6 separate regions of the Homo sapiens genome follow, and regions 2, 3, 4, 5 and 6 are each linked to region 1. The links are contacts of gene promoters, found by promoter capture Hi-C in blood cells and fetal thymus (Javierre and others, 2016). All regions are on one chromosome and are shown on one strand. Each heading gives the region's core, a stretch centred on a gene start or on the middle of the fragment in contact. The rest is flanking DNA. Distances are from core to core; before and after follow the strand shown. Region 1 holds the start of DHRSX (dehydrogenase/reductase X-linked). Region 2 overlaps AKAP17A (A-kinase anchoring protein 17A). Region 3 overlaps ASMT (acetylserotonin O-methyltransferase). Region 4 has its middle 41 kb from the start of ASMT. Region 5 has its middle 56 kb from the start of LINC02968. Region 6 has its middle 19 kb from the start of LINC02968.

Evidence for each region. Contacts are between HindIII fragments. The CHiCAGO score rates a contact against its expected background, and 5 or more counts as called.
Region 2: a fragment that was not itself captured here is called in contact with the fragment with the promoter of DHRSX in region 1 in 16 of 17 cell types (naive B cells, fetal thymus, endothelial precursors and 13 more); the score reaches 11.4 in naive B cells.
Region 3: a contact is called between a fragment that was not itself captured here and the fragment with the promoter of DHRSX in region 1, in 10 of 17 cell types (naive CD4 T cells, neutrophils, M2 macrophages and 7 more). The highest score is 7.0, in naive CD4 T cells.
Region 4: a fragment that was not itself captured here is called in contact with the fragment with the promoter of DHRSX in region 1 in 17 of 17 cell types (naive CD8 T cells, total CD8 T cells, megakaryocytes and 14 more); the score reaches 18.0 in naive CD8 T cells.
Region 5: a fragment that was not itself captured here is called in contact with the fragment with the promoter of DHRSX in region 1 in 13 of 17 cell types (total CD8 T cells, neutrophils, naive B cells and 10 more); the score reaches 10.8 in total CD8 T cells.
Region 6: a contact is called between a fragment that was not itself captured here and the fragment with the promoter of DHRSX in region 1, in 8 of 17 cell types (naive B cells, naive CD4 T cells, total CD8 T cells and 5 more). The highest score is 8.4, in naive B cells.

Annotation. Positions count from the first base shown.
Region 1 is chrX:2,499,012-2,502,772 of GRCh38, reverse strand. DHRSX (dehydrogenase/reductase X-linked) reads left to right here and starts at 1,797. Exons shown (of 7, transcript NM_145177.3): 1 at 1,797-1,956. The coding sequence starts at 1,848. It overlaps ZBED1 (zinc finger BED-type containing 1), which reads left to right and starts at 1,797. Exons shown (of 2, transcript NM_001171136.2): 1 at 1,797-1,956. The HindIII fragment of the contact is 4,150 bases long and covers 1-3,761 here.
Region 2 is chrX:1,592,456-1,596,216 of GRCh38, reverse strand. AKAP17A (A-kinase anchoring protein 17A) reads right to left here. Exons shown (of 5, transcript NM_005088.3): 2 at 1,993-2,773; 3 at 685-833. The coding sequence starts at 2,754. Among named protein-coding and RNA genes, the nearest start is that of AKAP17A, 2.7 kb to the right of the region's middle. The HindIII fragment of the contact is 2,741 bases long and covers 767-3,507 here.
Region 3 is chrX:1,616,193-1,619,953 of GRCh38, reverse strand. The region is part of intron 1 of ASMT (acetylserotonin O-methyltransferase); the gene reads right to left. Among named protein-coding and RNA genes, the nearest start is that of ASMT, 3.0 kb to the right of the region's middle. RefSeq lists an enhancer at 807-1,444. The HindIII fragment of the contact is 4,661 bases long and covers 1-3,761 here.
Region 4 is chrX:1,654,184-1,657,944 of GRCh38, reverse strand. No RefSeq gene overlaps it. Among named protein-coding and RNA genes, the nearest start is that of ASMT, 41 kb to the right of the region's middle. RefSeq lists enhancers at 1-145, 146-647. The HindIII fragment of the contact is 4,584 bases long and covers 1-3,761 here.
Region 5 is chrX:1,674,102-1,677,862 of GRCh38, reverse strand. No RefSeq gene overlaps it. Among named protein-coding and RNA genes, the nearest start is that of LINC02968, 56 kb to the left of the region's middle. The HindIII fragment of the contact is 10,000 bases long and covers 1-3,761 here.
Region 6 is chrX:1,711,102-1,714,862 of GRCh38, reverse strand. No RefSeq gene overlaps it. Among named protein-coding and RNA genes, the nearest start is that of LINC02968, 19 kb to the left of the region's middle. The HindIII fragment of the contact is 174 bases long and covers 1,516-1,689 here.

The DNA.
Region 1 (3,761 bases), core at 548-3,047:
CCCGGATGCCAGGTCTGGGGTCCCCTGGGGGACCAGGTGTGGGACTGGGAGGGTTGTGGTGGGGTGAAGGTCTGAGTGTCTGGGTGGGGGGTTCCATGAAGAATTCCAGTAGGAGTCTGCTGGGGGGTCCATGTGGGATTTCAGCCTTGGCCCTGGTAAGGGTCTGGGTGGGGGTTCTGTGCTGGTCTGGGGTTCCCTGAGGGAGCCCAGGTAACTCTGTGGTTGTCTGGGGTTCCCAACCAAGGTCTGAGTAGGGGTCTGCTGTCCCAGTAGGGATCAGGGTGGGGAGGGGGCTCGTGGTCCCTGAAGTAGTCTGGAGTTCTCTGCAGGGGCCGGGAAGGGGGTCTGTGATCCCTGCAGGGTTGTTGGGGGCAGGGAAGTGGAGGGGTAGGTTTGGTGGGTGGTGTCTGTGGCCTGGCAGGAATTGGGGTGGGGTCTGTGGTCTCAGTAGGAACTGGGGTGTGGGGTCCGTGCTTGGGGCAGGTTCTGTGGTGTCAGCAGGAACTGGGGTGTGGGGTCCGTGCTTGGGGCAGGTTCTGTGGTGTCAGTACGAATTAGGGTGTGGGGTCCATGGTCCTTACAGCTGTTCAGAGTCCTCTGTGGGAGTCCTGGTCCATAATCCTGGCATGGCTCTGGGTGGTTGTCTGGGGTTCCCTATGGGGTCCAAGTCCTTGTGGTCCCTGCTGAGGTCTGCGTGGGGTTACATGATTCTGGCTAAGATGGGGAGGGTGGTTCCCGTGGTGGTCCTGGTCCCCTGCAGGGTCTGGGTAGGGGATCTGTGATCCCATGGTGGGGGTCCTGGCTGGGGCTTGAATGGGGTTCCATGGTCTTGGCTGGAGTGTGGGGTCTTGGAGAGGCAGTCCAGCTGGGGTCTGTAGTCCTGGGGGGCGTCCTGGCAGGGGTCTGTGGTCTTGTGGGGTGCTGGCTGGGGCCTGTGGTCCGGGGGGTGGTTGTGATGGAGGTGGAGGTCCTAGAAGGGGGCCCCAGTAGGGGTCTGTGATCCTGGAGAGGGGTCCTGGTGGTGGGGGTCCCAGTGGAGGTCTGTGGTCCTGGGGGGCCCTGGGAGGATCTGTGGTACTGGGGAGTCCTGGTGGAGGTCTGTAGTCCTGGTGGGGTTCTTGGTGGGGTGTCTGGGCGTGCCCCAGTGGGGGGGCCTGTGGTCTTGGGGGTCCCAGCAGGGGTCTGGGGTCCTGGGGGGTGTTCTTGGGAGGAGTCTATGGATCTGACTTGGGTGCTGGCTGGGGTCTGTAGTCCTGGGGGCGTCCTGGCTGGGGCTGTTGGTCTTGTGGTGGTGGGGATCCCTGCTGGGGTCTGCAGTCCTGCCGGGAGGGGGAAGGGTCCCTGCTGGGGTCTGTGGTCCTGGAGGAGGTGTGGAGGGTCCCTGCTGGGGTCTGTGGTCCTGGGGGGGATTCCTGGCTGGGGTCTGTGGTCCTGGCTGGGGGTGTGTGTGGGGGGTCCCTGCTGGGGTCTGTGGTCCTGAAGGGGGGGTCCTGACTGGGGTCAGTGGTCCTGGGGGCGTCCTGGCTGGGGTCTGTGGTCCTGGGGGGGGGGGTCCTGGCTGAAGTCTATGGTCCTTGCAGGGGGGGGTTCCTGGCTGGAGTCTGTGGTCCTGGGGGGGGTGTCCTGGCTGGGGTCGGTTGTCCGCTCGGGGTCCCCAGTCCTGCAGGCGGTGCGGGATCCCAGAGGGCCCGGGCGGGGTCTGGGGTTGGGGGTTCCCCGCAGGCCGGGGCGGTTCGGGGCGGGCAGGGGGCGGTCCGGGGCGCGCGCGTTTCCGCCGTCCGTCCGGGCGGGCGGGCGCAGAGTCCCGCGGGCGGCGCGGAAGCGGCGGCGGCGCGGCCGGGGCAGCCATGTCGCCATTGTCTGCGGCGCGGGCGGCCCTGCGGGTCTACGCGGTAGGCGCCGCGGTGATCCTGGCGCAGCTGCTGCGGCGCTGCCGCGGGGGCTTCCTGGAGCCAGGTCAGCGGGGCGGGGCAGGGGTCAGGGCTCCGGGGACCCGGGTGGGCGCGGGCTGGCTCGGGGGCGGGGGCGCGGGGGCTCCGCGTGACCTTGGCGAGGCGGTGGCGCTCCCGGAAGTGGGGCTGGGCGGGGGTCGAGGTGTGGCCGGGGGTGGGGGGGGGGCGGCGTGCGCGCTGGGACCTCCCCGCCCCGCGCTTTCCGTCCCCGCCGGCTCTTCTGCGCGCCTGGCCCGGCCCGACCCGGCCCGACCCTTCCCTCCCCGCGCGTGTGGCCTCCCCGCCTGTCCCGGGTCGGGCTCCAACCAAGCAGCCCCCGTGCAGCCGCCCCCCCGCGCACCCTGACACCTCCGGGCCATGGCCGGGGACCCGGGGGCTCGCACGCCCCGCGCCCAAGACATCAGGCGGCTCTGCCTGCCGCCTGCGGTCGGCCAGTGACCGCGCGCCCCCGCCAGGCCCCGGAGGGGAGGAGCGGGCGTCCCAGGGACCTCGACCCCTACCCACCCCAGGGTAAGTGAGGATGGGCCCTTCTCCGGAGGACGTCTCCAGAGGGGGCCCAGAGGCGGCTTCTCGGGCACTGGGGAGCCACGGAGGTCTGGTGGGGAGGGCAGGCCCGTTAAGTGGCAACTTTGTTTCCTTGGCCTTTGTAAACATCTCTGAGTCACAGATCTCCAACTTTGCAGGACTCGTTCACTGTCTGAACTCATCAGTGATGACCGCCACTGTGTTTTGTGTATGCAGATAACTTCTGTTCCTAGATTTGCAGGTTCAGAATTTATTATTATTATTATTTTTTGTAATAGGAAGTAGAGATGAAGTCTTGCTCTGTTGCCGAGGCTACTCTCGAACTCCTGGGCTCAAGCAGTCCTCCTGCCTCAGCCTCCCAAAGTGCTGGCATTACAGGCACCAGCTACTGCATCCGACTAATGTTTTAAAGTTTTGTAGACGGGGTCTTGCTATGTTGCTCAGGCTGGTCTCGAACTCCTGGGCTCAAGCGATCTTCCTTCCTTTGCCTCCCAAACTGTTGGGATTACAGGTGTGAGCCACCACACCTGTCTAATGTTTTAATTTTTTTGTGTAGCAATAGGGTCTTGCTACGTTGCCCAGGCTGGTCTGAAACTCATGGGCCGAAGCAATCCTCCTACCTGGGTCCCCCAAAGTGCTGGGTTTACAGGCGTGAGCCACCACGCCTGGCTAATGTTTTAAATTTTTTGTAGAGATGGCATCTCACCATGTTGCCCAGGCTGGTCTTGAACCCCTGGCCTGCAGCAATCCTCCAGTCTGGGCCTCCCAAACTGCTGGGATTACAGACAGAGCGCCACTGTGCCCAGCCCATATTCTCAATTTAAACCTAGAAACCTGTAAACAATTATTTGTGAACTGGAATAAAGGGAATGTTAATTCCATGTTAGGTTAAATGATACTTTGTTTCAAAAATAACAGTTTTCCAAAACAGAGCGTTCAGAGGGTCAGTGTGGTGGGGGTGGGGGTGTACGTTGCCCTGAATGTCTTAAATGTCCAGCCTAAGAAGAGAGCTGTTATTTCTGCCTCTGTAGACAGTTTCATGGCATGTCAGGAGGCCTCTGGAAGACACTACTGCACGCCTCTGGGAGACTGGGAGTCAGCCAGGCGAAGCGCTTGGGTGCCTTATTGTGAAATGACTTTTGACTTCCACTCTGCACCCACTGAAGGAATCCCAGGGGTCCCAGCGCCACCCTTTGAGAAGCGTGCCTGGAGTGGATGTTTTAAAATGAGCCTCTCTCTCCCGCCTCTAGCCAGAGAAAAAGAGCTTTGAGTTTTCTGTGAGCT
Region 2 (3,761 bases), core at 888-3,387, 910 kb after region 1:
ATCACCATCAACCCTCTACTTCATTTTGTAAATGTAGCCTCAACCTAAATGCAAACTTGCAAACAGCCAAGGCATTCTGCTTGTTTCAGCGGGAGGTGTGAACAGCATGTGGAGGGAGAAGAGGTGGCTCTTCGGGCAAGGCGCGGTCCTGGGAGCCGGCAGAGATCGTGTCAGACCACGACGTGTGACAAGAAAAAGAGAAACATTCATATTCTGCTGCGTCTCAAACAGCCACTCACGCAGGTCCTCACGTGCACAGCTGAGCACCCACAGGCCTGCACACACACCCATACGTGCACACACAAGTACACACACGGGTTCACAGGCACACACGCATGCACACAGGCACATGTGTGCTATGTGCCGATACAGAAGCACACACATGTGGGCACACGTGCACATACACACACAGGTACACACACGAGCTCACACACATGCACGCACACACAGGCACACGTGCACACAGATGCTCAGGCACACACTCGGGCGCACATAGGGACATACAAAGTACACACACCGGTTCACAGGCACACGTGCGTCCATGCACACAGGTACACACACAAGCTCACAAGCATGCATGCACACACACACGCACAGGAATACATGCAGACACACGCACACGGGTCTGCGCACACTCCCAGGTGCCGGACACCAGCGCCGAGGGCCCGCTCCCGCAGAAGGTACCTTTCCTCCGCTCGCTGCCTCTCCTCCGCTTCCTTCTCTCTGCGCTTTTGTTCTTCTCTTTGCTGCTCCAGTTCCTGAAGCTTCTGCCTCTCCAGCTGCCGCTTCTTAATTGAGGCATCACTCAGGTGTTTGGTCGAATCAAAAGAAACCTTTAAAAGCAAAAACAGTGTCAGATGGCCTTCCCCCAAAACCCCCCAGACACACGGCCAGGCGCCCTCTCCTGGGCCGTAGGGCCGAGTGGCCTCAGAGCCTGAGCGCCCGCTCACCGCTCACCGCTCACCACTCATGTCCGGTGCAGACCCAGACAGTGGAGCCCAGAAGCCAAACCAATCCCTTCAAGTCACCATCAGTGGCTCAAGACTTAGCTCATCCCACGGAGTTACGACTCAGCGAGGAACACCAACTAGCCCTCGCCACTTACTGAACACAAGTGACACGCCACCGCTGCGAGACACAGCTCCCCTTCCGCTACCCGGCTCCACCATTCCCTGTGGCCACAGTCACTGAGCAGGCCGCCTGCCCACACCCACAGGGCACATCTTAAGGCCACAAAACCCCCTCCAGGAGGCTGGCTCATTTGTCACTGTGAAGCCAACACGGTCAAAACACGAGGCTAGGCTGAGCGCAGTGGCTCACGCCTGTAATCCCAGCACTTTGGGAGGGCGAGGCAGGCAGTTCATGAGGTCAGGAGTTCGAGACCAGCCTGGCCAATACGGCAAAACCCTGTTTCTACTAAAAATACAAAAATTAGCCAGGTGTGATGGCACGCGCCTGTAGTCCCAGCTACTCGGGAGGCTGAGGCAGAAGAATCGCTCGAACCCAGGAGGCGGAGGATGCACTGAGCAAAGATTGCGCCACTGCACTCCAGTCCAGGAAACAGATCGAGACTCTGCCTCGAAAAAAAAATAAAAATAAAAAAAATAAAAAAAATAAAAAAGCACATGAGGCTAAAGGGAACGTTCAGCCCTGGTTTCAAGGTGCATTCTGGGAAGGCCGGGTTCTCTTGGTTCTGACACGGTTCAAATCCCTGTCAGAGTTCCTGAGGCTCCATCCCTCACCTACTATATGACCTGTGTCTCCCCCACATCTTCCTTAAGATACCAAATTTCCAAAACCACAGCACGGGACCCCTACTCCACCTCACGCCTGTGCCTCTGAAATTGGACAGGCACAGGACTGTTGCTGCCATTTTACTTAGGGGAGGTCCCCACAGCCTCAGGGGTGTGGCTGGGAGCGTTCTGCTGACCCTGCTGGAAGGAAGTCGCCAGAGGGAGGAAGCGCGTGGCTCTCTCGGTGCCCAGGACTCACCTTGATGTTGCAGGCCACGGCCTTGCCGTCCTCGCCCTTGTACATGAGTTTCATCCCGCGCAGGGCGCTCATGGCCTGGATGAAGCCCATGTACTCGCGGTACTGCACATAGGCCTCGAAGTTCAAGTGCCCCCCGAAACTGAAGGTGTGGAAGTTGCGGCCCGTCATCTCCTCCCGGTAGGGGTCCAGCATGGGGATGTCCACATTCCGGATCTCCCCGAACTTCTCAAACACCTTGACCAGGACGTCCTCGCTGGGCTTCTCGGAGCCCGACTCCTTCAGGGCGAACCACTTGCAGGGCAGCCCCTCCAGGTGGATGGTGTCCGGCCGCTCCCCCGGCAGGGTCTCGTTCATGTCCTTGGCGTCGCGGAAGAAGGAGTCCCAGTCGTGGCGGGTGGGGAAGTCGATCTTGAACTCGGCCGCGCGCACCTTCAGGATGTCGGAGAAGCCGCTGAGCTTGATGGTCTTGCCGTCCAGGCAGGCCAGAAAAGACTTGACCAGGCTCTTGTTCTCCACCTCCCCCTCGAAGCGGATGAAGTCCATGGTGCTCTTGGAAATACGCAGCGTGGAGAACTGGTGGTTCTGCACCATGCCCTTCAGCCTCTCCATCACCTCCCAGTTGGAGATGGACTTCCCCGGCTGCTTCAGCTGCGGGAGTGCCACGCTGATGGTCATCTTGGTGATGGGCTTCAGGTACAAGCCGTAAGCAGGGCAGAGCTCCACGGCCTCAGACGTGTCGTGCACGATGGTAGCCGCTGCCATAGCCTCCGGGACCTTGGGCCTGAAACATAAGACGCAGACAGTCAGCACCAGCACCCCCCACCTCCCCCGCCAATGAGGAGGGGCCAAGCCAGCAGGCACTTTCTGGACCCGGAGAAGAGAAACAGCAGTGTCTCTCTGCCGTGTCAGAGACCGGTTTCCACTTTGTTAACAGCCATCTCAACGGAGTTCTTTACTTTTTGAAATCATTAAGAGTACACCAAAGGGGAAAGAGCCGAGCTGATAAAGAACAGGTTAGTGTCAAAGCCTCGGTCAGCACTGCCCGACACCCTACATCCAGCAGCCAGCAGCTCCCAAGGCCTGCAGAATAGGAAGCTGAGCACGACCAGGCCCCTCACACAGGTCAAGTAGGAACGGGGACGCTACAAACGCCTAGCTCCACGGGAAGGGGCAGAGAGACACTGGGGAAGGGAAGGGGCCAGGGAGAGCACAGCTGCAGGCATCTGGAAAGGTTTTGTGGAGGGGGCGGCGGCCCTGTACTTGCCCTGATAAAACAGGAAGTCTCGGGCTGCAACAACAATCCAGAACCATGAACCCTAGTAATCTCCACGAAGGCCAAACGTATCCCAGCTTTAACCCACTCAAAGCCAAAAAGTACAACGAACTTTCCACAAGTTAGGGGCCGGAGTCCCCCGTCTGCGCCTTCTTTCTCCGCCCACCTTCATTAACCCACCTCTTCCCTGCTGAGCTGACGGGCAGCCACTTCCTGACGGCCAAGTCCAAGTAGAGGAAGCTTCACTCGCAGAAACCCAACCATCTCAGGTGACCGCCTCCGGCCCGGCCGCCCACCCCATCAACCTGGAGGCTTCCTGCCAGGCCCAGGAGACGGCCTCCTCGCCCAAGCCCGAGGTGGGAGGTGCGAAAGAAGGGAGGGAGGGTGGAGAAGCGACCAGAAAAGGTCAGTGGGGCACCAGGGAGGGGCTCCAGTCTGGACAGAGACCAGTGAACCCTCCCCCAGAACCCAAGCGGCCCCAGCAACTTCACCACCG
Region 3 (3,761 bases), core at 535-3,034, 880 kb after region 1:
GCCCGGCTAATTTTTAAAATATTTTTAGTAGAGACGGGGTTTCACCGTGTTAGCCAGGATGGTCTCAATCTCCTGACCTCCTGATCCACCTTCCTCGGCCTCCCAAAGTGCTCAGATTACAGGCATGAGCCACCACGCCCGGCCCGTATTAACCTTTTTAAATTAGCGTTCTGTTTTGTTTTATTCATTAAAGTTGTATTCATTCCTTTTGGGGTTGTCTCAATTAATTGTTCTTTTAAGGGCATATATTAAATGTTACCTTCTTATGGCTGAGTTCACCCTTGGTCTATGAAAGGTGCATTAACTGTTTCTGTTAAGGGTACGCTAACTTTGATCTTTTTTTTTTTCTGCTCCCAAAGACTTTTTATTATTATTATTATTATTATTATTATTATTATTATTATACTTTAAGTTCTGGGGTACATGTGCAGAACGTGCAGGTTTGTTGCACAGGTATACATGTGCCATGGTGGTTTGCTGCACCTGTCAACCCGTCACCTACATTAGGTATTTGTCCTAGTGCTCTCCCTCCCCAGCCCCCACTTTTTTTTTTTTTTTTTGAGACAGGGTCCCGCTCTGCCCCCAAGGCTGGAGTGCAGTGGCGTGATCTCGGCTCACTGCAACCTCCACCTCCCGGGTTCACGCCATTCTCGTGCCTCAGCCTCCCAAGTAGCTGGTACTACAGGTGCCCGCCACCACGCCCAGGTAATTTTTGTATTTTTAGTAGAGATGGGATTTCACCATATTGGCCAGGCTGGTCTCGAACTCCTGACCTTGTGATCCGCCCGCCTCGGCCTCCCAAAGTGCTGGGATTACAGGCGTGAGCCACTGTGCCTGGCCAAGGGTATACTAAATGTTATCTTCTTAAGGCGATATTCACTCTTGGTCTATGAAAGCTGCATTAGCTAATTGTTTCTGTTAAGGGTGTACTAAGTTTGATCCTCTTAAGGTGGTATTAACTCTGCATTAACTCTGGTTCTGTGAAACTTCTGACAACTCCCATGACATGGTATCATGTGCCTTAAAGTGACTGCTCTTCCAAGATTTAGAACCCACCAGACCACCTCCCTGAACACCGCTGTGAACCAGCGACAGTCTTTGAATGAGCAGTCAATAGCCCCAGCAGGAGGCCTGCGGTCAAAGGAGGCAAAGGTAGCAAGTTACTGTTGTCTGGGACAGTAACAGAAATCCCACCTTTACTAAAAAATAGAAAAATTAGCCAGACATGTTGGCTCATGCCTATAATCCTAGCACTTTGGGAGGCTGAGGCAGGCAGATCACCCGAGGTCAGGAGTTCGAGACCAGCCTGGACAACATGATGAAACCCCGTCTCTACCAAAAATACAAAAAATTAGCTGGATGTCAGTGGCTCACGCCCGTCATCCTAGCACTTTGGGAGGCTGAGGCAGGCAGATTGCCCAAGGTCAGGAGTTCAAGACCAGCCTGGCCAACATGATGAAACCTCATCTCTACCAAAACTACAAAAAATTAGCCAGAGGCAGTAGCTCACACCTGTAATCCTAGCACTTTGGAAGGCCGAGGCAGGCAGATCGCCCGAGGTCAGGAGTTCGACACCAGCCTGGCCAACATGATGAAACCCCGTCTCTGCCAAAAATACAAAAATTAGCCGGGCGTGGTGGTGGACGCCTGAAATCCCAGCTACTCAGGAGGCTAAGGCAGGGGAATTGCTTGAACCTGGGAGGGAGAGGTTGCAGTGAGCTGAGATCATGCCACTGCACTCCAGCCTGGGCAACAACAGTGAAACTCCATATCAGAAAAATAAATAAAAATAAAAATAAAAATAAAAGTTAGCCAGGCTTGGTGGCAGGCACCTGTAATCCCAGGTACTCAGGAGGCTGAGGCAGGAGAATCGCTTGAACCCCGTAGGCGGAGGCCGCTCTGCGTATCAGTGGCTGGGGAATAGGTATTTTTAACCCTTGGGGGCCTAGAGGTAAAATTCACGGGCTCTACAAACCAGGAAGGAGAAGAGACTTCACTCTAATTTTCACTACCTCTTCCTAAGATGTGGTGTTCCCTTCAACCATGAGCGTACTGGCAAACCACAGCCATGATAGAAGAAAGTGTGGGGGCCAGGAGGATCACCTGAGGTTGGGAGTTCGAGACCAGCCTGACCAACATAGAGAAACCCCATCTCTACTAAAAATACAAAATTATCTGGGCGTGTTGGAACGCGCCTGTACTCCCAGCTACTCGGGAGGCTGAGGCAGGAGAATCGCTTGAACCCGGGAGGCAGAGGTTGCAGTGAGCCGAGATAGCGCCACTGCGCTCCAGCCTGGGCGACAAGAGGGAAACTCTGTCTGAAAAAAAAAAAGGAAAAAAACAAACAAAAAAAACCGGTGGCTTGCTGACGGAGAGAAACCACAGATATTTTCAAGTCACACGAGAGCTGCTGCAGACATCTCAAAATATCGTCAGCACACGACCCCCTTTCACGATGATGCTGGTTTTTGGTTTTTGTTCTGAGACAGAGTCTCACTGCGACACCCAGGCTGGAGTGCAGTGGCATAATCTCGGCTCACTGCAACCTCTACCTCCTCCGGGTTCAAGCAATTCTCCTGCCTCAGCCTCCCGAGTAAATGGGATGACAGGTGCCCACCATCATGCCTGGCTAATTTTTATACTTCTAGTAGAGACGGGGTTTCACCATGTTGGCCAGGCTGGTCTTGAACTCCTGACCTCAAGTGATCCGCCCACCTTGGACCCCAAAAAGTGCTGGGATGACAGGCATGAGCCACCGCGCCCTGCCGTTTATTTTTTAAAGAGACTCAGTATTGCTCTGTCATCCAGGCTGGAGTGCAGTGGTGCAATCATAGCTCACTGCAGCCTTCATCTCCTAGGCTTAAGCGATCCTCCCGCCTCAGCCTCCTGAGTAGCTGGGACTACAGGTGTGCACCACCCCACCTGGCTAATTTTTAAAATATTTTTGGCCAGGCACAGTGGCTCACGCCTGTAATCCCAGCACTTTGGGAGGCCGAGGCGGGCGGATCATGAGGTCAGGAGATCGAGACCATCCTGGCTAACACGGTGAAACCCCGTCTCTACTAAAAATACAAAAAATTAGCCGGGCGTGGTGGCGGGTGCCTGTAATCCCAGCTACTCGGGAGGCTGAGGCAGGAGAATGGCGTGAACCTGGGAGGTGGAGCTTGCAGTGAGCCGAGATCGTGCCATTGCACTCCAGCCTGGGCGACAGAGCGAGACTCTGTCTCAAAAAGAAAAAAGAATTTGTAGAAATGGGGGGTCTCACTATGTTGCCCAGACTGGTCTCGAATTCCTGGGCTAAAGCGATTCCCTCGTTTCGGACCCCCAAACCGTTGGGATGACAGGTGTCACCGCTGAGCCCGGCCATCATTAACCCTTTTCAAGCATAATTCAGGGGCACTTAGTACATTCGTGATGTTGTATAGCCAGCACTTCCGCCGGGTTCCAGAACATTTGCATCACCCCAAAAAGGGACACTGTCTCCGTTAAACACTCCCTCCGCAGTCCTGCCCAGCCTCTGCAAACCACCAGTCCACTTTCCACCTCGAAGGATTTGCCTGCTCTGCACATTTCATATAAATGAAGTCATACCATATGGGGCCTTTCACGTCAGCCTTCCTTCACTGAGCACGATGTTATTCTGTGAGAAGAAGAAATGAGGCCTTGGGAGGCCGAGGCAGGTGAATCACTTGAGGTCAGGAGTTCGAGACCAGCCTGGCCAACATGGTGAAACCCCATCTCTACTAAAAATACAAAAATTA
Region 4 (3,761 bases), core at 881-3,380, 850 kb after region 1:
ATTTTCTCCAGAGTGTACAAAAGCAAAGGAGAGAGCTCCCCTCCCAGACTGCTGGAGGGATGTGGGGACTTACCGCATGGCTGATGCTCTCAGGTTCCAGCCAGACTTAATGTCCTAAAATGCACCCAAGACAGGCAGGCCTGGGTCCAGACGGCCAGCGGGGAGGGCTGCCCGGGCTCGTCTGCAGAGCCCGGAAAAGGAGGAGGAGGTGAACAGAGGAAGGAGGAAGGGTGATGGGGCCTGCAGGGTGTGATATGACGTGAGTTATCACCTCCCTTTGTGCTGCTGCTGTTTCTTACTGTGGGAAAATACCCATCACACACAGTTTGCCATTTTAAAAATTGCACAATGAAGAGACGATTTAGTGCACTGAGCATTTTACACAACCACCGGCCCTAGCTAGTTCCAGAACACCTTCGTAACCCAAAAAAAAACACCCCATACCCATTAAACCGTCACTCCCCAGTCTCCCTGCTCTCAGCCTTAAGCAATCACCCATCTGCTCTCTGACTCTGCAAGCAGTCTTATTCTAGACACTTCATGCAAATGATATTGTGCCATTTTGCACTTTTGTGCCTGGGTGTTTTTTGTTGTGGTGGTGGTGGTGGTTGTTTTGTTGTTTTTGTTTTCACTCCGTTACTTCTACACCAAACTAATACATGATGTATTCAGTCAGAGGCTATCAAGGACTCAAAAGAATACAACCTTTTCTCTTTTTTTTGAGATGGAGTCTCACTCTGTCACCCACGCTGGAGTGCAGTGGCGTGATCTCGGCTCACTGCAACCTCCGCCACCCGGGTTCAAGCGATTCTCCTGCCTCAGCCTCCCGAGTAGCTGGGATTACAGGTAACTGCCACCATGCCCGACTAATTTTTTTTGTATTTTTAGTAGAGATGGGGTTTCACCATGTTGGCCAGGCTGGTCTCAAACTCCCGACCTCAGGCGATCCACCCACCTCGGCCTCCCAAAGTGCTGGGATGACAGGCGTGAGCCACCACACCTGGCCCCCATTTTTATGGTTATTTCTTGATGATATGCTAAACTAGGAGTGGATTATTCATATGGACTCTTTTTAGACCATATACATTGTATTAGTCAGGGTTCCTTAGAGGAATAGAACTAATAGAAGATATATACACACACACGCACACACACACACACATATATATGTATTGTGTGTGTATATATATGTGTGTGTGTATATGTGTGTATATATGTGTGTATGTGTGTATATATGCGTATACACACGTGTATATATGCGTGTACACACGTGTATATATGTGTGTACACACGTGTATATATGCGTGTACACACGTATATATGCGTATACACACGTGTATATATGCGTATATGCACATATGTGTACATGCACATATGTGTGTATACACATGTGCATATACACATATATGTGTATACATGTATATATACACATGTGTGTGTATACACGTGTATATATGTGTGTATATATACACGTGTATATATACACACATATACGTACATATATATGTGTGTGTGCGTGTGTGTGTATCTTCTATTTGTTCTATTCCTCTAAGGAACCCTGACTAATACAATCTATATGGTCTAGAAAGAGTCCACATGAATTATATATATATGAAGGGGAGTTTATTAAGGAGAATTAACTCACAGAGTCACAAGGTGAGGTCCCACCATAGGTCATCTACAAGCTGAGGAGGCAGGAAGCCAGTCTGAGTCCCAAGGATTAAGAACTTGGAGTCCAGTGGTCCAGGGCAGGAAGCATCCAGCAAAGGAGGAAGATGGAGGCTGGGAGGCTAAGCCAGTCTAGCCTTTTCACGCTCCTCTGCCTGCTTTTATTCTGGCCAGACTGGCAGCTGATGAGACGGTGCCCACCCAGATTGAGGGGGGTTCTGCCTCTCCGAGTCCACTGACTCTAGTGTTATTCTCCTTTGGCAACACCCTCACAGACACACCCAGGAACAACGCTTTGATTGGATCTTTCAATCCAATCAAGCTGCCATTCAGTATTAACCATCACGCCCAGGAAACTCACTCACGGGTCACGATATGCGAAGGTCACTCTAAAATCACTCTAGCTATAAGAGATATTACCCGGGCCTGGCGTGGTGGCTCACGCCTGTCATCCCAGGACTTTGGGAGGCCGAGGCTGGTGGATCACTTGAGGTCAGGAGTACAAGACCAGCCTAACCAACATGCTGAAACCCCATCTCTACTAAAAATACAAAATTTAGCCAGGCATGGTGGTGCGCACCTGTAGTCCCAGCTACTCGGGAGGCTGAGGCAGGGGAATCACTTGAACCTGGGAGACGGAGGTTGCAGTGAGGCGAGATCGCGCCATTGCACTCCAGCCTGGGTGACAGAGAAAGACTCTGTCAAAAAAAAAAAAAACAACCATCAGCTGGTCTGCCTTATTCCAGGAGGCCCACAGAAAGTCTTGGGCAAAATGAAACAGCAGACTCTGGTCCCAGCTCTCTGGCTTTACACATCTACAGACCCTGGGTACCCCCAGCAGGCAGCACCCAGCAGGCCTGAATTATCCTGTCTCCCCCTCCTCCCCAGACGCGGTCTTGAGCCATGTCCTGTTTTGGAACTGTGGCTAAGGGGAGCTTGTGGGTATCAAGTCTCCAGGTATCAGCAGCTCCTCTCATAAACCAAAAATAGGCCGGGCGTGGTGGCTCATGCCTGTGATCCCAGCACTTTAGGAGGCTGAGGCAGACGGATCACGAGGTCAGGAGTTCAAGACCAGCCTGACCAACATGGTGAAGCCCCATCTCTACTAAAAATTAAAAAATTAGCCAGGCATGGTGGCGGGCGCCTGTAGTCCCAGCTGCTTGGGAGGCTGAGGCAGGGGAATCGCTTGAACCCGGCAGGCGGAGGTTGCAGTGAGCCGAGTTGGGGCCACTGCACTCCAGCCTGGGCAACAGAGCGAGACTCCTTCTCAAAAAAATAAAAAATAAATAAATAAAGCAAAAATAAAAATCTGAATGGACTCCCTCCTTGGCCAGGACACTCTAAAATTTAACATGAAATTATTTCAATTTCAATTTAAAGTTCATGCCATGTTGGGAAGTGGAGGTTGGCCAGGCCTCGCCACACCCCTCTGTTACCAGAAAGGGGTCCTCATCCAGATCCCAAGAGAGGGTTCTAGGATCTCATGCAAGAAAGAATTGAGGGCAAGTCCATAGACCAAAGGGAAAGCGAGTTTATTGGGAAAGTAAAGGAATAAAAGAATGGCTACTCCGTAGACAGAGCAGTCCCCAAGGTTGCTGGTTACCCATTTTTATGGTTCGTTCTTTCTTTTCTTTCTTTCTTTCTTTTTTTTTTTTTTTTTTTTTTTGATTTTGAGACGGAGTCTTGCTCTGTCACCCAGGCTGGAGTGCAGTGGCATGATCTCGGCTCATCGCAACCTCTGCCTCCCAGGTTCAAGCGATTCTTCTGCCTCAGCCTCCCGAGTAGCTGGGACTACAGGCATGCACCACCACGCTGGGCTGATTTTTGTATTTTTAGTACAGATGGGGTTTTGCCATGTTGGTCAGGCTGGTGTCAAACTCCTGACCTCGTGATGCGCCCGCCTCGGCCTCCCAAAGTGCTGGGATGACAGGCGTGAGTCACCGCACCTGGCCTTTATGGTTATTTCTTGAAGATATGCTAAACAAGGGGCGGATTATTCATGCCTCCCCTTTTTAGACCATATAAGGTAACTTCCTGACGTTGCCATGGCATTTGAAAACTGTCATGGTGTTGGTGGGAGTATAGCAGTGAGG
Region 5 (3,761 bases), core at 824-3,323, 830 kb after region 1:
AATTACCTCTTTACATACCCTACCTCCAAATACAGCCACATTCTGAGGCCCTGGGGTTAGGGCTTCAACCTAGGAATTTTAGAGGGGACACAGTTTAGCCCATAAAAAAAGGATCGGCCGGGCACGATGGCTCACGCCTGTAATCCCAGCACTTTGGGAAGCTGAGACGCGCAGATCACGAGGTCAGGAGTTCGAGACCAGCCGGACCAACATGGGGAAACCCCATCTTTACTGAAAATACAAAAAGTTAGCCAGGCATGGTGGTGGGCACCTGTAGTCCCAGCTGCTCAGGAGGCTGAGGCAGGAGAATCAGTTGAACCCGGGAGGCAGAGATTGCAGTAAGCCGAGATCGTGCCATTGAACTCCAGCCTGGGAGGCAGAGTGAGACTCCATCTCAAAAAAAAAAAAAAAAAAAAGAGGCTCACTCTTCTTTATCATTGAGTCGCCTGAATCAGTGAGCAATCCCTGGTCACACCCTTTGGAACTCACCCACAGACTCCTGAGCTGGATTCTCCTGGGCAGGCCTGGGACTCTGCATTGGAACATCTCTCTCTCTAGAGGGTGATTCTCCTGGAGTTAACCCAGCCCCAGCCTGAGGACCACTGCTCTAGAATCTTGCACCCTCCACCCACAGGGGCAAGACTGACACTCAGGGCCCACAGGTTCTGATATCTTCCCGGACTTTCACCCACAGTGCAGAAAAACGCTGAGTGCCAAGGCTCACTGCTACCACGGCACCTGCCGTGATTGGCGCTGATGCTTAGAGACGAGGATATGCTTCTCCTCGTCCTTTTGTGTGCTGGGTCGGGGGTACAGAGGCAGTTGGAAGCTCCTGGCCTCCCACTGGAGGGAAACTCCGATGATTCCACCCTGTCCTTCTTCCCTGAGTCCTCCCGTCCCCTCCCGGAATCCAGGCACCCACAGGTCATCTGTGACTCTCTCAGTCACCCCGCAAACCCACGAGGACCCCTTATTCTCTCTCCTTCGGTGGTGTATCAGACAGGGAAACAGAACCAATAAGATGGAGAAAATCAATAGGAGGTAGATATGATTTTTTTTTTTTTTTTTTGAGATGGAGTCTCACTCTGTGGCCCAGGCTGGAGTGCAGTGGTGCGATCTCGGCTCACTGCAGCCTCCGCCTCCCACGTTCAAATGATTCTCCCGCCTCAGCCTCCCGAGTAGCTGGGACTACAGGTGCCAACCACCATGCCCGACTAATGTTTCTTTTTATTTTTAATAGAGACAGGGTTTCACCATGTTGGCCAGGCTGGTCTCGAACTCCTGACCTCGTGATCCACCCTCCTTGGCCTCCCAAAGTGCTGGGATGACAGGTGTGAGCCACTGCGCCCAGCCTGGAGGTAGATGTTTTATACATACTTATGGACAGACATGTAAACACACATGTAGATAGGTTACAGAGAGATTTTAAGAAATTGGCTACTGGTTTTATACATATAGATATTACATATATATATATATATATATATATATACACACACACACATACACATGCAAAGAGAAATGTTAAGGAATTGTCTATATAGAAGGAATTGTCTATATAGGAAATACATATTGGCTTTAATCACACTTATATAGACACAGGTAGATAGATAGATAGATAATATATATAGAGAGAGAGAGACAAAGAGATTTTAAGGAATTGTCTGTGTAGGAGGTATATGTTGGTTTTTTACATACATATAGATATATAATGTCTATGTAGCTATTTATCTATATATAAATATACACAAAGACAGAGATGTTAAGAAATTCTCAATATTAGGATGTACATATTGGCTTTATCCATACATATCTATATAGAGATATATAATAGCTACATATCTATATGTAGGCCTGGCACGGTGGCTTACGCCTGTCATCCCAGCACTTTGGGAGGCCGAGGCGGGCAGATCACCTGAGGTCAGGAGTTTGAGACCAGCCTGGCCAACACGGTGAAACCCCGTCTCTACTAAAAATACAAAAAATTAGCTGGGCATGGTAGTGGGCACCTGTAGTACCAGCTACTCAGGAGGCAGAGGTGGGAGAATTGCTTGAACCCGGGAGGTGGAGGTTGCAGTGAGCCAAGATCACACCATTGCACTCCAGCCTGGGCAACAGAGCAAGACTCCGTCTCAAAAAAAAAAAAAAGAGGCGGGTGGGGGAGAGAGAGAGAGAGGCAAAGAGATTTTAAGGAATTTCTATGTAGGAGGTATATGTTGGTTTTTTACATGCATATATATATATATATATATACAATATATGTCTATATATACAATATATATCTATATATACTATATATCTATATATATATACAATATATATCTATATAGATACAATATATATCTATATATAAATATACACAGACAGAGACTATCTATACATCTATATATAAAATACACAGAGAGAGAGAGATGTTAAGGAATTATCAGTATAGGAGGTACATATTGGCTTTGTCCATACATATCAATATATAGATATATAATAGCTATATATCTCTATCTAGGCCGAGTACGGTGGCTCACGCCTGTAATCTCAGCACTTTGGGAGGCCGAGACGGGCAGATTACCTAAGGTCAGGAGTTCGAGTCCAGCCTGGCCAACATGGTGAAACCCCGTGTCTAGTAAAAATGCAAAAAATTAGCCAGGCGTGGTGGTGGGCACCTGTAACCCCAGCTACTTGGGAGACTGAGGCAGGAGCATCGCTTGAACCCGGGAGGTGAAGGTTGCAGTGAGCCAAGAACACACCATTGCACTCCAGCCTGGGTGACAGAGCAAGACTCGGTCTCAAAAAAGAGACAGAGAGAGAGGCAAAGAGATTTTAAGGAATTGTCTATGTAGGAGGTATATGTTGGTTTTTACATACATATAGATATATAATGTCTATATATCTATATATAGGTATACACAGAGAGAGAGATGTTAAGGAATTGTCAATATAGAAGGTACCTATTGGCTTTATCCATACAGATCTATATATAGATATATCTATATATATACATACAGAGAGAAAGGAAAGATTTTAAGGATTTGTATACATAATAGGTACATATTGGCTTTATTCATGCATAGCTATATGTAGACATATAATATCTCTATATCTATGTCTATATAAATCTATATACACAGAGAGCGACTTTAAGAAATTAACTATGAAGGAAGTATATGTTGGTTTTATACATACATATAGATATTTGAAGGAGAGACATTTTAAGGAATTGGCTACGTAGGAAGTATATATTGGTTTTATACAGACATCTATAGGTCTTGAGAGAAAGGGAAAGAAATTTGAAGGAATTGTCTAAGTAGGAGGTATATGTTGGTTTCATATATACATGTATTGATATTTGAGAGAGATTTTAAGAAATTGGCTAAGGCCGGGCGTGGTGGCTCACGCCTGTAATCCCAGCACTTTGGGAGGCTGAGGCGGGCGGATCACGAGGTCAGGAGTTTGAGACCAGCCTGGCCAACATGGTGAAACCCTTTCTCTACTAAAAATACAAAAATCAGCCAGATGTGGTGGTGGGCACCTGTAATTCCAGCTACTCGGGAGGCTGAAGCACGAGAATTGCGTGAACCTGGGAGATGGAGGTTGCTGTGAGCCGAGATCGTGCCACTGCACTCCAGCCTGGGCAACAGAGCAAGACTCTGTCTCAAAAAAAAAAAAAAAGAAAGAAATTGGCTAAGTAGGAGGTTTATGTTGATTTTATGCATGCATATATAGATATTTGAGCGAGAGATTTTAAGGAATTGTCTAAGTAGGAG
Region 6 (3,761 bases), core at 353-2,852, 790 kb after region 1:
GTCAGGCTGGTCTCAAACTCCCAACCTCAGGTGACCTGCTTGCCTTGGCCTCCCAAAGTGCTGGGATTAAATATACAAACTTTTTACTTTCCTTTTTTCTTTTTTTGAGACGGAATCTCGCTCTGTCGCCCAGGCTGGAGTGCAGTGGCACAAATCTCGGCTCACTGCAACCTCTGCCTCCTGGGTTCAAGTGATTCTCCTGCCTCAGCCTCCCGAGTAGCTGGGACTACAGGCACATGCAACCACGCCCGGCTAATTTTTGTATTTTTAGTAGAGACAGGGTTTCACCATGTTGGCCCGGATGGTCTTGATCACCTGACCTGGTAATCTGCCCGCCTCGGCCTCCCAAAGTGCTGGGATTACAGGCGTGAGCCACTGCACCCGGCCAAGTATATAAACTTTTGATGGACCTTTTTGGTGGTTGAGAAACAGGCACACCCAGTTCCCGTCTCTTGTCTTTCCCCCGATGCCCTAATACAGGTGGAAAAGGCTGGATACTCCCAGCCACCCCCCATCAGCGAGGGCTGATGAGGAAGACACAGCTCTGAAGACCAGATACAGGATGAAGTATGCAGGGTGTGGGGAGGTTGGGGAAACACGCCTCCCTGACCGAAATGCGATAATCCCCCAAGGAGATGGCTGTTTCTGCAACAATGATGGGAAGGCTGAAAAATCAGAGCTGCCGTCCAGCTCCCAAACCCTAAATGGACGTGCTCACCTGGCCCTGAATCTGTCCCCTGCATCCTTCACAAGTGAACAATCTCCAGGTCCTTGCTGCCAAAGGCACCACTGAAGCTGAAGATTGAGGCTCCTCCTCCTCTGCAGATGGAGTAATTCCAATATGTAGGACATGTGCCATGACAAAACGCAGCAGAACTGCCAGCCGAGAAAACATTGCCCTGTGCCTTGGAATTGTCTTAGTGTCTCATCAGCATTTGCTTCTCCTAGTTTGAGAGATGGGAGGCGCGAATCTTGACATATTCATCACCAGCATTCCGTCACTAGGACCATATATAAAAAGAGAACTCTACCAGCCTCAGCAACAAAGCGAGACCCCATCTCTAGTAATCAAAAACTAGTAATCAAAAACTAGTAATCAAAAATCTAGTAATCATCAAAAACTAAAATAATTAGCAGACCTTGTAGACATGTGCCTGTAGTCTCAGCTACTCAGGAGGCTGAAGCAGGAGGATCCCTTGAGCCTGGGAGGTAGAGGCTGCAGTGAGCTATGATGGTACCACTGCACTCCAGCCTGGGCAACAGAGGGAGACCTTGTCTCAAAAAACAAACAAACAAAAAATAACAACAACAACAAAACTAGCAGCCAGAAACATTATGCAAATGATGGGGTTGACTGCATTTCAATAAAACTTTATTTACAAAAAAACAAGTGGTGGGCCGTATGTAATAGCACGTCACACACAGGCTGTAATGTGAAAAAAGAGAGAACTCTGATCCATTCCCTCTGCAGCAATTGGCCCCCAGTGGCCAAGGCTTCATTAATACCTGAAAGCTTTCCTAATTCTTCTTCCCATTTCCAATTTAAGTCCAACAAGAGGAAGTCAAATATGCCCCCTAACCACTCACCCAGGACGCCACCATGCTTCCAGTGAGCTGCCTCCAGCTTCCCTGGAGGACAAAGCCTTTCTTCAGGGCACACCTGAGCCTCCCTTTTTCCACGATAAAGCTTTTCCCCTCCTCTGTCTGTCTTTGAGTTTCTGTGATGGTGGCGGACCCCTGCTACAGCAAGCACTGAATAAGTAGCCTTTGCTTGTTCTCTTTTGTGGGGGTCTTTATCTCATTTCCACATTCTGGCAAGGAAATAAGAAACTCAATACTCCTTGAACAGAAATATGGCCAGGCACAGTGGCTGACACTTGTAATCCCAGCACTTTCGGAGGCCAAGGCGGGTGGATCACTTGAGGTCAGGAGTTCGAGACCAGCCTGGCCAACATGGTGAAACCTCATCTCTACTAAAAATACAAAAATTAGCCAGGCGTAGTGGTGGGCACCTGTATTCCCAGCTACTTGGGAGGCTGAGGCAAGAGAATCCCTTGAACCGAGGAGGTGGAGGTTGCAGTGAGCTGAGACCACGCCACTGCACTCCAGCCTGGGTGACAGAGCGAGACTCTGTCTGAAAAAAAAAAAGAAAAGAGAGAGAGATGAAAGAAAGAGAGAGAAAAAGAGAGAGCAAGACAGAAAAAGAGAGAGCAAGAGAAAAAGAGAGAGAGAAAAAGAGAAAGAAAAAGAGAAAAAGAAAGAGAAAGAAACAGAGAAAGAAGAAAGAAAAAAGGACTGATGTGTTATGTATGTATTTATAATCCAACCACATCTGTTGATTCATCTTCCTGCCCCTTCTACACTCTGAATAAATATCAAAAATCTCTTATTCACTGTGAATGTTAAAATTACTGATGAAGAGGTTTAAGAAGAAATAGGGCTGGGCACGGTGGTTCACACCATAATCCCATCACTTTGGGAGGCTGAGACTGGAGGATCGCTTGAGATCAGGAGTTTAAGACCAGCTTAGACAGTATAGCAAGACCCTGTCTCTACAAAAAAAAAAAAAAAAAAAAAAAAAAAAAAAATTAGCTGGGCATGGTGGCATGCACCTGTGGTCCCAGAGACCTGAGAGGCTGAGAGGTGGGAGGATTGCTTGAGCCTCGGAGGTCAAGGCTGCAGCGAGCCGAGATTGGGCCACAGCACTACAGCCTGGGTGGTGACAGAGAGAGCCCTATCTCAAAAAAAAAATAAGAAGAGACGGGTGTGAGGGGAAGAAAGAGAAAGAAAGAAAAAGAGAGACAGAAAGAGAGAAAGAGAGAGAGAAAGAGAAGGAGAGAGAGAGAGAGAGAGAAAGGAAGGGAGGGAGGGAGGGGAAGGCCAGGCACAGTGGCTCACGCCTATAATCCCAGCACTTTGGGAGGCCGAGGTGTGTGGATCACCTGAGGTCAGGAGTTTGAGACCAGCCTGGCCAACATTGTGAAACCGTCTCTACGAAAAATACAAAAATTAGCCAGGTGTGGTGGCACAGGCCTGTAATCCCAGCTACTTGGGAGGCTGAGGTAGGAAAATCGCTTGAACCAGGGAGACGGAGGTTTGCAGTGAGCTGAGATCATCCCATTGCACTCCAGCCTGGGCGACAGAGCAAAACTCGTTTTCAAAAAAAAAAAAAAAAAAAAGAAAGAAAAGAAAAGAAAAAGAAACAGGACATTTGCATATAGTCTTCAAGTCTATACCCCCCAACCCATTGATTATTTCCAGCACATACCACCTTCACCATCAAGATTAACATCACTAGAAACAAGATGTCAAGATGTGTAGACAGGGCCAGGTGCGGTGGATCACGCCTGTAGTCCCAGCACTTTGGGAGGCTGAGGCAGGTGGATCACGAGGTCAGGAGATCAAGACCATCCTGGCTAACACGGTGAAACCCCGTCTCTACTAAAAATACAAAAAATTAGTCGGGTGTGGTGGCGGGCGCCTGTAGTCCCAGCTACTTGGGAGGCTGAGGCAGGAGAATGGCGTGAACCTGGGAGGAGGAGCTTGCAGTGAGCTGAGATTGCGCCACTGCACTCCAGCCTGGGTGACAGAGTGAGACTCCGTCTCCAAAAAAAAAAAAAAAAAAAAAGAGTGTGTAGACATCATGGTAACATCGCCTTACACTGACATCCTAACAAACAGAGGACTTCCAAAAATGCAAAGCCTCCCTCTAACCATGAGAAAACATCAGAAAAACTCAAAATGAGGGACACTGCACAGGT